Regions from separate parts of the Homo sapiens genome. Here regions 2, 3 and 4 are each linked to region 1. Evidence: promoter capture Hi-C in 16 types of primary human blood cells and fetal thymus (Javierre and others, 2016). All regions are on one chromosome and are shown on one strand. Each heading gives the region's core, a stretch centred on a gene start or on the middle of the fragment in contact. The rest is flanking DNA. Distances are from core to core; before and after follow the strand shown.

What was found. The method cuts DNA at HindIII sites, captures the fragments that hold promoters and counts their contacts. A CHiCAGO score of 5 or more calls a contact.
Region 2: a fragment that was not itself captured here is called in contact with the fragment with the promoter of SLC25A53 in region 1 in 2 of 17 cell types (activated CD4 T cells and non-activated CD4 T cells); the score reaches 6.2 in activated CD4 T cells.
Region 3: a contact is called between a fragment that was not itself captured here and the fragment with the promoter of SLC25A53 in region 1, in 3 of 17 cell types (monocytes, activated CD4 T cells and total CD8 T cells). The highest score is 7.1, in monocytes.
Region 4: a fragment that was not itself captured here is called in contact with the fragment with the promoter of SLC25A53 in region 1 in 2 of 17 cell types (total B cells and activated CD4 T cells); the score reaches 10.0 in total B cells.

The regions. Positions count from the first base shown.
Region 1 is chrX:104,155,031-104,158,632 of GRCh38, forward strand. SLC25A53 (solute carrier family 25 member 53) reads right to left here and starts at 1,979. Exons shown (of 2, transcript NM_001012755.5): 1 at 1,848-1,979. It also overlaps a transcript of FAM199X not described here. RefSeq lists an enhancer at 1,753-2,052. The HindIII fragment of the contact is 6,927 bases long and covers 1-2,189 here.
Region 2 is chrX:101,350,452-101,354,053 of GRCh38, forward strand. It overlaps BTK (Bruton tyrosine kinase), which reads right to left. Exons shown (of 19, transcript NM_000061.3): 17 at 3,419-3,537; 18 at 2,743-2,900. Among named protein-coding and RNA genes, the nearest start is that of TIMM8A, 3.5 kb to the left of the region's middle. The HindIII fragment of the contact is 4,884 bases long and covers 1-3,602 here.
Region 3 is chrX:101,399,037-101,401,536 of GRCh38, forward strand. The region is part of intron 3 of RPL36A-HNRNPH2 (RPL36A-HNRNPH2 readthrough); the gene reads left to right. It overlaps GLA (galactosidase alpha), which reads right to left. Exons shown (of 7, transcript NM_000169.3): 4 at 1,630-1,721. Among named protein-coding and RNA genes, the nearest start is that of GLA, 7.6 kb to the right of the region's middle. The HindIII fragment of the contact is 4,058 bases long and covers 1-2,500 here.
Region 4 is chrX:101,932,223-101,935,824 of GRCh38, forward strand. No RefSeq gene overlaps it. Among named protein-coding and RNA genes, the nearest start is that of ZMAT1, 2.0 kb to the left of the region's middle. RefSeq lists an enhancer at 1-84. The HindIII fragment of the contact is 2,213 bases long and covers 541-2,753 here.

The sequences.
Region 1 (3,602 bases), core at 729-3,228:
TATACAAATATAAAAATAAAAAGATTTTCTAAGCAGTGTCAAATAAGTCCATTTTATTTCATATCTACTGTGTCTGAATTCAGACATGCCTGACGTTTAGGAGTGTGCCTAGCCTTCCCTAGGGGAGATATTCTTTTTTTTTTTTTGAGACAGAGTCTCACTCTGTTGCCCAGGCTGGAGTGCAGTGGCGCAATCTTGGCTCACTGCAACCTCTGCCTCCCGGGTTCTAAGAGATTCCAGGAGATATTCTTTCCAATTTATTGTCAGCTCCGTTTAGACCTATAGTTCTCCAAGTATGGCCCCATGTCCAGGAGTATCAGCATCTCCTGGGAACTAGTTAGAAATGTAAATTCGGGGGTCCACTCCTGACCAACTGTAGGGGCAACTCTGTGGATGGGACCTAGCAATCTTGGTTTTAAGAAACGCTCCATCTGATTCTGATTCACAGGAAAGTTTGAGAGCCACTGACTTAGACTGCTATACTGTTGTTTCTCTGGTAAACAAAGAGGCTTCTTTTCTTGTTCAGAGAAATATTGCTTAGGATTTCTGGTGGGTGCACAATTCCCTGCTGTGAACCGAGTTTGCTGGAAAACCAAGTAACTAGCACCTCCATCGTAGTCCTACCCAGAGCTTGCAGGCTTTGCACTCACGTAAGACTGATTCTTCCAGAGGCGCCTGGAAGTCCCATTGTGATGGGCAAATGCTCTTACCAGAAATAAACTAGTTGTGGGGACCGGGCGCGGTGGCTCATGCCTGTAATACCAGCACTTTGGGAGGCCGAGGCAGGCGGATCACTTGAGGTCAGGAGTTCGAGGCCAACCTGGCCAACATGGTAAAACCCCGTCTCTACTAAAAATATAAAAATATAAAAATTAGCCGGGAGTGGTGGTGGGTGCCTCTAATCCCAGCAACCCGGGAGGCTGAGGCAGGAGAATCACTTGAACCCGGCAGACGGAGGTTGCAGTGAGCGGAGATCACGCCACTGCATTCCAGCCTGGGCGACAGAAGTAGAGAGACTCCTTATCAAAAAAAAAAAAAAGAAAGAAAGAAAGAAAAAAAAAAAGAAATACACTAATTTTGGGCCTTAAATGCTACTCAGTTCTCCAGTTCACCTCAACAGGGAGGGAAGGTGCTTGGAGGAAAATTGCACTTCGTTTTTGCCCTGCTTATTTTGTCTTCAAAATATATGTTAAATCACCGCATCAAAGAGCCGTCCCAGATCTCAACTCCCAGATGAGTTCGGTGGCACCCAATAGATTTTCATAACACAGGATCTATCTCTGTCTCCTTGTATTGTAATAGCCTGTCTCCAAATGCAGATAGCAACCGGCAGGCTGTAAATGTCGAGGAAAAAGCCTAATTCCTTTCCTCATCCGGAGCCTCTAGTGCAGTACCCAGCACAGAGCAGGTACTTGGTATTTTGGTAAGGGAAATCAATCAACGCATCAATAGCAGAATCTGAAACCAGGGACCTAGATCTTTCCAATAAAATCATCCTGCTGAGATGTGACTCAGATGTACTGGTGCCCAGCAGACAACACGTTTTCGCCCTGATTTTATCCTCCATTCATCCGTCCGCCCCCTCCCCCATAGACCCCGCCTGTCCCCAGCTAAAAATAATGAGGGGATTCACACATCTCAGTGTCAACACACACAACACAGTTGACACGCCCCTTAATCCTACAGCTACGCCATCAATTCTCGCCGCCGGGTCCGTCCGCTTGTCAGTTTCCCCTACTCCTCATCCCCTCGCAACTTCTGATCCCCTATCACTTCCGTTCCCGTTTGCCTGCTAGGCTGGAAGCAGGATGTGTCTACGCCCTCAGCCCATAAGAAGTGCTACAAACCTCCGCCTCGCTCGCTGTCATGGCGGCGACCGACGGCCCCTTTCCTGTGGCCTCAGAAAGCAGCGACAGTCGCAGTCACCGGACCTTCGCCCATCCGCCGCCCTCACTTAAGCGACGCACAACGGAGCTCCCACAATCCTCTTTGCTTCCGCTCTCTTTATTTCCGCCTCCCCCGCCCCCGCCTCGACATTAACCGTTTCGCGACTACGTCAGTTGGCCGGTCTGTTTGGGAGAGCCAGGCGACTAATCTGGTATAGAGACCGAAAAACACAGGTAAAAAGACCTAAAAGACTTAGTCATCTATTGGAACATTTCCCCAGTTTGTTTGTAAGTTGGCTTGCAAGCTTATCAGTCATTCTCAAACAGGAGCTTAACTTACTTAGGTGAACAGTTCATGATGACGCCTTTAAGCTGCTAGACCAACCCAAACTCCGAATTTGCAGTTTCTGACCTTTCACCTTGAACCTGTGCCCTTTCTACCCTCTATTCTCCATCTCCTTTTGGTTCTTGTCTGACTCTTTAGCTGCATATGTAAAGAGCACAGACTTTGAAACCTGAGCTCCCGCGTTCGAATCCCCACTGTACCACTATCTAAACATGGCATCTTGGGCAAGTGATTCAAGCATGCTATTCCTTGGCTTTTTCATCTGTAGAATTGGTATAATAATAGTACTTACCTCCAGAGTTGCAGTAAAAATATTAAAATTTCACATGTGAGGAGCACCTAGAACATTGCCTATCATGAAGTTAAGCAGTATATTGAAATATAAATTATAATGATTGAATTTGATCTCACCTAAGACCTCTGGCTAATAAATAATAAATGATAATAATCATTTCACCTGGGATAGAGGGGATTGCCCTGTTCTCTCCAGGCTGAGGCTGTAATACCTGATTCTAGGGACTGCTGATATGGAAATTACTACCACTCTGGCTGGAGTCAGAAGAGTATATTAAAGAGTCTCTTTGTACTGTCCTAAAATAAGCAAAATCCAACGTTTGCAGTTCTATGGACCACGCACTATGATAAGTGCTTTAAACCCATTTTGTTGTTATTGCTTCATCCTCACAATAGCCCTTTGCTGGTTCTTAAGTGTATTACCCTTTCCTGTCCTCTTTGTCTGCTTAAAGCAGCTAAGAAAACTCAGATTAGTCAGATTGCATATAAATCAATAACTTGCCCACGGTCACAGAGCTAATAACAAATAGAGCCAAGACTTAAACTCAGATACATTCAGATGTGTCTTGGTATTTCTCAAATATCACTGAGAAAAAGGCCACCATAAATTCTTTTCAAGTGCTCTCTCTCCCCCAACTCCCCACCCCAAGAATTGCCTGAATGCCCATACAGAAAGACTAGGTTCTCTTCAGAAGCAGAAGGGCAGAACCCACTAAGGCAAAGATCTCTCCCTTGAAGGCTGGCAGCCAAGGAGGTGACTATAGTAGGAATTGGCATAACCAGCTCACTCATTGCCCTCCACTGTGCCACACAGGCCCCATTACTTCCTATAGTACTGAAGACCACTGGGGATAAAGGTACAGGGCCTTCACCTCATCCCACCGTTCTGTAAAGCTTGGATATTAGCAAAGATCTTGCTTATTTTAGGACAGTACAATGAGACTCTTTAATATACTCATCTGACTCCACCCAGAGTGGTAGTAGTAATTTCCATATCAGCAGTCCCTAGAGTCAGGAATTACTGCCTCAGCCTGGAGAGAACAAACCAATCCCCTCTGTCCCAGGTTAAAACAAAA
Region 2 (3,602 bases), core at 611-3,110, 2.8 Mb before region 1:
TTTTTTTTTTTTTCTTTTTGAGACAGAGTCTCACCCTGTTGTCCAGGCTGGAGTGCAGTGGTGTGAGCTCAGCTCACTGCCACCTCCCAGGTTCAAGCGATTTTCCTGCCTCAGCCTCCCAGGTAGCTGGGATTACAGGTGCACGCCATCACGCCCAGCTAATTTTCGTATTTTTAGTATAGACCGGGTTTCACCATGTTGGTCAGACTAGTCTCGAATTCCTGACCTAAGGTAATTCCCCCGCCTCAGCCTCCCAAAGTGCTGGGATTACAGGCGTGAGCCACCGCGCCCGGCCTACGACTAAGGTTCTTTTTGATGGCCATGGCCCATAAGCCCCCGAGGTATTTGGTATTTAGTGGTTCAGGGAACATTCATGCCAGAATGCTCTCAATCTGTTAGAACCAATGGTCATCAATTTCTTGATTCCTTGACTCAGTGATTCTTAAACTTAGCTGAGTATCAGAATTTCCTGGGAAGTTTAAAAAGAGATTTCTGGGTTCCACTTCAGGCATAGCTAATCAGAATTTCTGGAGAAAAGTCCCAGTTACCTGAATTTTTTTTTGTGACACAGTCTCGCTCTGTCACTCAGGCCAGAGTGCAGTGGCAGGATCTCGGCTCACTGCAACCTCCACCTCCTGGGTTCAAGTCATTCTCCTGCCTCAGCCTCCTGAGTAGCTGAGATTACAGGCACACATCACCACGCCTGGTTAATTTTTGTATTTTTAGTAGAGACAGGGTTTCACCATGTTGGCCAGAATGGTCTAGATCTCCTGACCACGTGATCCGCTTGCCTTGGCCTCCCAAACTGCTGGGATTACAGGCATGAGCCACCATGCCCAGCCAGTAATCTGCATTTTTAAGAGCTCCTTAGGGTTTCTGATATGCATCCAATTTTGACCACTCCTTTAAACAGGCTGTGGATAAAGTACCTGTCTGAAATCATTTTTAATTAGCAGAGTAAGAAGGTCCTGATTGGGAGGGAGCATAGCCAATCACCCTTAATCCTGCATCACACAGAAGAAAGAAGGAGTCCTCCCTTTCTGCACTTTCTCTGTGATCTGTCATTTGTTCGAGGGAAACCAGCCATGCTCGGATCCAGATACCCACTTTTCACCTCACCAAGAAGGCTCCAGATTCACATATGCACTTGTTGGACACTCTGAAGAGTTGAGCATTTATTTCCTACTAGAAATTTAGGTTGCCAAGGATCTACTGAAAAGTAGAGAAGGCATCTTGGGAAGAACTCGAGGTAAGAGGAGCAAAGCAGTTTAATAGTAGTAGGACAGATTTCCTTATTTCCAAAATACCACACCTACCCACATACCCCACGATGCACCATATTAAAAAGCAAAACAAAACAAAGCAAACAAAAAACCCACTACCTGTTTTAGTTCCCTTTCAAGCAGTAGGTTTTAAAAAAAATCTCATTTAGCCGGGCGCTGTGGCTCATGCCTGTAATCCCAGCACTTTGGGAGGCAGAGGCGGGTGGATCACAAGGTCAGGAGATCGAGACCATCTTGGCTAACACGGTGAAACCCTGTCTCTACTAAAAATACAAAAAATTAGCCGGGCGTGGTGGCGGGCCCCTGTAGTCCCAGCTACTCGAGAGGCTGAGGCAGGAGAATGCTGTGAACCCAGGAGGCGGGGCTTGCGGTGAGCCGAGATCACGCCACTGCACTCCAGCCTGGGCGACAGAGAAAGACTCGGTCTCAAAAAAAAAAAAAAAAAAATCTCATTTAGGACCTCAGCCAGAAACGGTTGGCAGCTAATAAAGTAGAAGAAAGGGCCAATGACACACAAAGGAATGAACAAACTTTCATGACTTTTCTTTTGTAATGCCCATTCACTTGTCTGAATGCCTCTGGCTGCCTGCTTATGCTAGATGACATGGCCCCACAACACCTCACTCCCTAAAGCTGAGCTGGCATTGGAGTGTACTAATGACACTCTAGTGAGAATCGGAGTGGGCCTGGGAAAGCCTCTGGCCATCAGATGATCAAGTTGCAGGCCAAGGTCAGAGAATGTGTGCAAGGCCTGGCGTGGTGGTTGATGCCTCTAATCCCAGCACTTTGGGAGGCCGAGGTGGGCGGATCACTTGAGGCCAGGAGTTCGAGATCAGCCTGGTCAACATGGCGAAATGCCATCTCTACTAAAAATACAAAATTGGCCAGGCTCAGTGGCTCACGCCTGTAATCCCAGCACTTTGGGAGGCCGAGGTGGGTGGATCACCTGAGGTCAGGAGTTCAAGACCTGCCTGGCCAACATGGTGAAATGCTGTCTCTACTAAAAATGCAAAAATTAGCTGGGCACGGTGGCATGTGCCTGTAGTCCCAGCTACTCGGGAGGCTAAGGCAGGAGAATCACTTGAACCCAGGAGGCAGAGGTTGCAGTGAGCCAAAATCGTGCCACTGCACTCCAGCCTGGGTGACAGAGCAAGACTGTGTCACCAAAAAAAAAAAAAAAAATTAGCTTGGTGTGGTGGTGCACGCCTATAATCCCAGCTACTTGGGAGGCTGAGACATGAGAATCGCTTGAATCTGGGAGGCGAAGGTTGCAGTAAGCCAAGATCGCGCCACTGTACTCCAACCTGGGTGAAAGAGCGAGACCTTGTCTCAAATTAAAAAAAAAAAAAAAGGAAAAAAAAGAATGTGTGCAGCTATCAGTCTTTGGTGGCTGAATGGCCAGCTAAATGGGCAAGTAGATTCAAGGAAATAATTTAAGAGATCCTAATAAAGCACTTACCTCATGCCAGCAACTGTACATGATGGTATATACCTTCTCTGAAGCCAGATGAGGCCTGTAGAGACGTAGGCCTTGGGCAATGTGTTCAGCAGTCTCACTGTTAGTAAATCTCTCATATGGCATCTTCCCCAGGGAGTAAATTTCCCACATCAAAACCCCTAGAAGGTGAAAAAAATTATTAAATTGGTTTGCAGTCTTTTTGGATAGCAGGGGTCCTAGTCTTCCTAGATCAACCTCAAAGATTAGAATCAGTTGGTTCCCCGCTCTGTGCTTTTTATATTTTGCCCAAATTTCTGCTATAGTACTGACCACACTAGATGGAGATCAAGGTCGTACTAGACTATTAACTCCTCTAGAAGAGAGACAGCATCTTATTTGTCTTTGCAGTTATAGGGTCTGGCAGAGTGCCTGGTACATAATCAGTATTCAGAAGCTGTTGAAAACTGAATGAATTGTTTTCCTTAACATGGTTTAAGTTCTAAAAAGGCAGAGATCATGTCCAGTTTAGTTTTCATCCTCAGAAACCCCTGTGGTGGCTGACACACAGTAAGCACTCCCCAAGGATTGGAAGAATGAAAGCAAGAACAATATCTCTGTGGAGGTTGCAAAGTGTGAATTTTCCCATTGCATTTCTTATCCTTTGAGCTGTATAATCTGTGTAATCTTATCCACTTACCAAAAGCCCAAATGTCAGATTTGCTGCTGAACTTGCTATACATCAGGACTTCCGGTGGGGACCACCGGACTGGAAATTTGGAGCCTACTGAGCTTGTGTATTCATCATCCAGGACATACCTGCAAGGGATTCAGGACTTGTTGCATTAGGATTTGGAGGCTTGATATTTGCTTACGTTTTCTTG
Region 3 (2,500 bases), core at 1-2,500, 2.8 Mb before region 1:
TTGAGTTTACAGATTGAACGTCTCCATAAGGAGGTCTAAACCCTTATAATGAATTTTCACTGTAAGAAGTTTGCTTCAGAAGTAGGCCATATAACTTGAAATCCCTTAAAGTTAATTTACTTCTATAATCAGAACTAAAATGGTCTTAGTAAAATTAAAAGCTGCAAAATTACATAGGACTCCATCAAGTATTAAGAAAACTTAAATCCCAGGCATATAGTTTGTTAATGGAATAAAAAGTTTGTAGAGGCTGGGCACGGTGGCTCATGCCTGTAATCCCAGCACTTTGGGAGGCCGAGGCAGGTGGATCATCTGAGGTCAGGAGTTCGAGACAAGCCTGGCCAACATGGTGAAACCATCTCTACTAAAAATACAAAAATTAGCCAGATGTGGTAGCGCACGCCTATAATCCCAGCTACTGGGAGGCTGAGGCAAGAGAATCGCTTAAACCCGGGAGGCGGAGGTTGCAGTGAGCCGAGATGGCGCCACTGCACTCTAGCCTGGGTGACAGTGAGACTCTGTCGCAAAAAAAAAGTTTGTAGATAGGCAGGTGGGATATCAGGTTTAAGATGTTGAGAAAAAAGACTATTTTGCAGAGATAATGAGGGAATAATAGGGATTCATTCCATAAATAACTATTCAACACTTAACCATATGCGAGAGATACAGTCAAAGTCAGACAAGGTCCCTGCCCTCATGAAACTTACACTCTAGTGGGGAGACATGGTAACAAGTCAACAAATACTTCCAAATAGTGTGGAGCTCTGAGAAGAAAATTAAACAGGTTAATGTGATGAAGAATGAATGGACAGAGGGCTATTTTAAAGTAGTTAGAGAAGAACTGTCTGCATATGTGGCGTTTGGTCTGCGACTTCAATGTTAAGGAGCCCGGCCCTTTAAAAATCTTTGGGGAAGAACTGTTCTAGGCAGAAAAAAAGCAAGTGTAAAGGCCCTGGGGCAGCAATAGGCTTGCAGTGTTGAGGGACAGAAAGAAAACCAGTGTAGCCAGGGAAAGAGCCATGACCCCTTGGACTTTGGGGAGGCAGGCAAGGGCTGGATCAGTGCAGTTTGGTTTCATTCCAAGTGCAATTGGAAGCGAGTTAAGGGTTTTAAGCAGGGAACTGATGATGACATTTATATTTTTTATAACTCTGTTAAGTCTCAGGGTTTTTTTCTTTAAAAAAAAAACTGATATTTACATTTTAATATGATAACTCTAGTGCTGCTTGGAAAATAGATGGGGGTTGAGACAGAGTGGAAGCAGAGAGATCAGGTGGTCCCAGCAGTCTGGTTGAGAGCCGATAGTAGCTTGGAAGGCCAGGGTGCATGTAGTGAAGATGGAAGGAAGTGGGCTGATTCAGGAGATATTTTAGAGATACTGGTGGAAGGACTGTTGATAGACAGGACATGAATGGTGAAATAAAGGGGAAGACACAAGGATGACTTTCCAGGTGATGGTAGCTTAGGCTATAATTACAGCAGTGGGGATGGTGAGAAGTGGTTGGAACCTGGGAGAGATGGTAGGATGATAGTAAGTAACGTTGGACTTTGAAGGAGACCTTGGTTTCCTTTGTTGTCAAGTTCTATCTATCAGTACAGTTCTATTGGATTCTGGGCTCACTATCTCACCTTTTGAAAGGGCCACATATAAAGAGGCCACTCACAGGAGTACACAATGCTTCTGCCAGTCCTATTCAGGGCCAAGGACATGTGCTTATAACCTGTATGAGAAAACAATGGGTAAAATAAGGGAAAGAAATGAATTTCCAGCTGGGGCTATATATATAGTTATTTTATTTTATTTTATTTTAATTTTTTGAGATGGGGTTCAGTCTGTCATCCAGGGTGGAGTGCAGTGGTGCGATCTTGGCTCACTGCAACCTCTGTTTCCCAGGTTCAAGTGACTCTTCTGTCTCAGCTTCCCAAGTAGCTGGGATTACAGGCATGTGCCACCAAAGTCAGCTAATTTTTGTATTTTTACTAGAGATGGGGTTTCACCATGTTGGCCAGGGTGGTCTCGAACTCCTGACCTCAAGTAATCCACCCGCCTCAGCCTCCCAAAGTGCTAGGATTACAGGCATGAGCCATCATGCCCAGCTGGGGCTGTATATTTTAAGAAGAGGCTACCTGGAAGGTTCATGTTTAAACTAGCAGCAGGGACAGGCAGTTGCTCTGTGCTTAAATTGTGTAAAGTACCTCCCAGACTGCTGGGATTGTTCTGAGGAAGTAGTGCAGAGATGGTGTGTATATTGAGGAAAGGCAGGAATGAAGATGCTTCTTTCTCTGTGACCGATTGACAACCTGGACTCCCCTAAATGATGTTATAGAGAGTTACAATTACTAATTAACTCTTAGAGCCCTCTTGAATTATAAGTGCACAATATTAGCTATGGTTAGGTATGCATGGATTTTACATGAATTAATTAATTAATTAATGAACTGAAAGAGAAGAGATGGGAGCTCTGGCACATGGAGAATAATTATTTCCAGTATTGTGACA
Region 4 (3,602 bases), core at 397-2,896, 2.2 Mb before region 1:
GGAAGCAACGACGGCCAAGGGCAAAGGGCAAAAAGCGCGGGATGTGAAAGCACGTGGGCCTCGCACAGTGAGGCTTCTTTGGAGATCTAATCTAAAACCAATTTAAGAGGAAAAAATGTCTGGAAACTATTGATCTCACCTCCAAAATATCTCTGAAATATATCTTCACCTGGCTTTTTTTTTCTCTTTCTTTTTTTTTTTTTTTTTTTTTTTTTTTGAGGGAGAGTCTCGCCCTGTAGCCCAGGCTGGAGTGCAGTGGTGCGATCTCACTCACTGCTACCTCTGCCTCCCGGGTCCTGGTTCAAGCAATTTTGCCTCAGTGTCCCGAGTAGCTGGGATTACAGGCATGTGCCACCATGCCCAGCTAATTTTTGTATTTTTAGTAGAGATGGGGTTTCACTATGTTAGCCAGGCTAGTCTTGAATTCCTGACCTCATGATCCACCTGTCTCGGCCTCCCAAAGTGCTGGGATTACAGGCGTGAGCCACCACGCCCGGCCCCTGGCTTTCTTAAAGCACTTAGTACAGAGAATAGAACAGAAGCTTTCATTCTGACACATTGTTTCCGTGGCCTCTTAAAGGACTGCCTATCTATCGATCTGCCCATCTTAATTACAATAACTTCCTGTGAATTCAGCACCCAATAGAAGTACTAGAATATTACTGATCACTTAAATCTCATCTTGTCCCCCCAACCTCTCCTCTCAAAGAGACCAATATCCTGATTTATATTTATTATTTCTTTGCATTTTAACATATATTCTTATCACATAGATATGTGCCTAAATAGTGTTGTTTAGTTTTGATTGTTTTCAATTTTCACAAATATTTATATCTTTTTCTAGGTAGCATTCTGGGACTTGTTTCTGCTTTTTTTTCCCTCAAGCAATACTCTTACCTCAGCCTCTGGAGTAGCTGGGATTACAGGAAGGAGCCACCATGCTTGGCCTGGGACTTGTTTCTTTCACGTAACATTCTAAGATTCATCTATGTTGTTGCTTGTAGCTGTAGTTATGCACTGTCGATGCTGTAGGATATCTCACCCTTTTCCTTATTGATGGGCACACCTCCTGGTGCCTTTGTGCAAGTCTCCCTTAAGTATTCTCTCCTTTCCAGTCTTAGATCCGTTGCTGTATTTCAAGTCCTCATGATATATGGTCAGACGTATGGCATCCACCCCACTGGTCTTCTTTCCTCTGATCTCAATCCCTCCAATCTATTACCAAGTTGTTGCCAGTCGTCACTGGCTGTCCAGTGCTTATTGGACAAAGTCAAAAGACACAGTTTTGCCCTGTTAGTCTCCCCATTCACCTCTTTGACCTCATCTCTTTCCACTGTCCCCATCTCTCCCCTCTGCTTTTACTTTGATTTAGCAATCCCTAAATCTTCTTAGATTCCTGTGAAGACCGCCAGGCGCGGTGGTTCACGCCTGTAATCCCAGCACTTTGGGAGGCCGAGGCGGGTGGATCACGAGGTCAGGAGATCGAGACCATCCTGGCTAACACAATGAAACCCTGTCTCTACTAAAAATACAAAAAAATTAGCTGGGCATGGTGGGGGGCGCCTGTAGTCCCAGCTACTCAGGAGGCTGAGGCAGGAGAATGGCTTGAACCTGGGAGGCAGAGCTTGCAGTAAGTCGAGATTGTGCCACTGCACTCCAGCCTGGGCGACAAAGCGAGACTCCATCTCAAAAAAAAAAAAAGATTCCTGTGAAGACCATGTTATTTCATGATGTAATGTTACTATATATGTTCTTCTCTCTTCCTGAAACACCTTTTCCCCCACATTAGGCACTTGCCTAATGAAATCCTATACACCCTTAGAAACCCAGACAACACATCACCTCACCAAGTAACCTGTTCTGTCTCTCCTTAGAGTTAATTTCACCTTCTTCTGTGCTACATCTATATCTGGTGTGTATTTTTATTGTAATGAATTATATACTTTGTACTTCTCAAGAACCTGGGACCATTTGAGACAAAAGACAGCGTCTTATTTTCCATGACTCATGCTCCAGCCCAGTAAAGTCCTAGGACAGAAGTTGAAAGGCAGGGATCCCTAGGCCCAGGTCTCTAAGTCCCTAGATCTGGCTTATGATATGTTTTCTTCTACGTACACAATTGTTTATTCATGACCTCATCAACATTTGAAAGGGGTATTTCATGCAAAATAAAAGTCTCTTAACAACATGAAGATTTGGCAGTACTGGCTGTGCATTCCTGAATGGCTACAGTTGGCTAGAGCTGAATAACCAGTTAGAGAGACTTGGAGTTCTGGGCTTTTAAACACTTATCTTTATGTTGTTTTTTGTGGTTCAATAATTTACCCAAGATTACCTGAGTCAATGGGTAGCTTCTCTAGACTTCTACCTTGTCCTTATGTAAGTTAGATCAAATTTTACTCGTTAAGGAAATTACTGGATAGGCCAGACACAAGAAATAATCTGCTCAAGTAGCTAGTAGGACAAGGCAAGCATACAAATGGGGTGTGATTTTATTCCTTCTGATATGGAGGGATCTCTCAAAAACATTGTTTTTTGAAATATGAATCACAATCCACTTAGGTAAGAAATATTCATTCAGAATCTCTGGAGGAGTGGGCATCACTCAAGATTCAGTCAGCAAAAAAGAAACTACACTAGGTATTTCAAACAGAAAATATTTAATGTAGAATATCAGGTACTTAAAAGAATCAGAAAGGTTAAAGAAGTAAAATCCAGGAGACTTACGCAGATAAGGTCATCTGGCAGTTGGAAGCTTTTTCATCCTCGTCTATGTTCTCTCCTTTGTTGCAGAAGCTGGAATCCTGTGAATTACATTTCCTAAACTTCTTGCCAGCAGGATTCTGAATATGGTTTAGGTATCACCAATGCTATGTATTTGTATGATATTTTTTAAATAGAAAGGAAATAAAAACTGTTCTTTATGTGGAATCTGGCAGATATAAAACAAATTTTTTTTCAGACCCTAGCATTCTTCTGTAAGTCTTGTACTCAAAGGCTTTGGAGGATCTGTGAGATTAGCAGTGGTTTTCTGCAGTTCCCTGACCTCTGTCTGACAGTAACAACTATATCAGTCAACAAATATATATTAAATTATGGAATTACTTTGTCCTTCTTAGGATCCACGGAAAATTCTGTCTCTGCCACTTTAACAGTAAAAAGAAGTGGTAGGATAATGCACAAAATAAAATAAAATTATTAGTTAATTTTCTCCCCATCCTTCAGCTGCATTTGGTGACATGCCATAACATGAAAATGCCACCAAACCTCAGTCATGCACTGTGACAATAAGCACACACTTCCCTTTCCCTCCTCTTATACTTATCATTGCTCTCAATGACAGTAATGTTATTAAGTGAATGCCAATGTAATTTATCTCACAGGAAAGAGGAGGTGGAATATAGCACAGAGTAGCAATTAAGGAAAGCCTGCTATGGGCCAGATGTTTCCTAGAATTTCCCAGTCTTCTCACAAAAGTGATGTTATATTGGGCTCATTAATTCCATTTAAAAACGCAAAACTCAGTCTCATGAGTGTAAATAACTTCTCCATGGTTCTTTACTTATTGATTAAAATGGTCTGTTTATATCATTGACCCACAG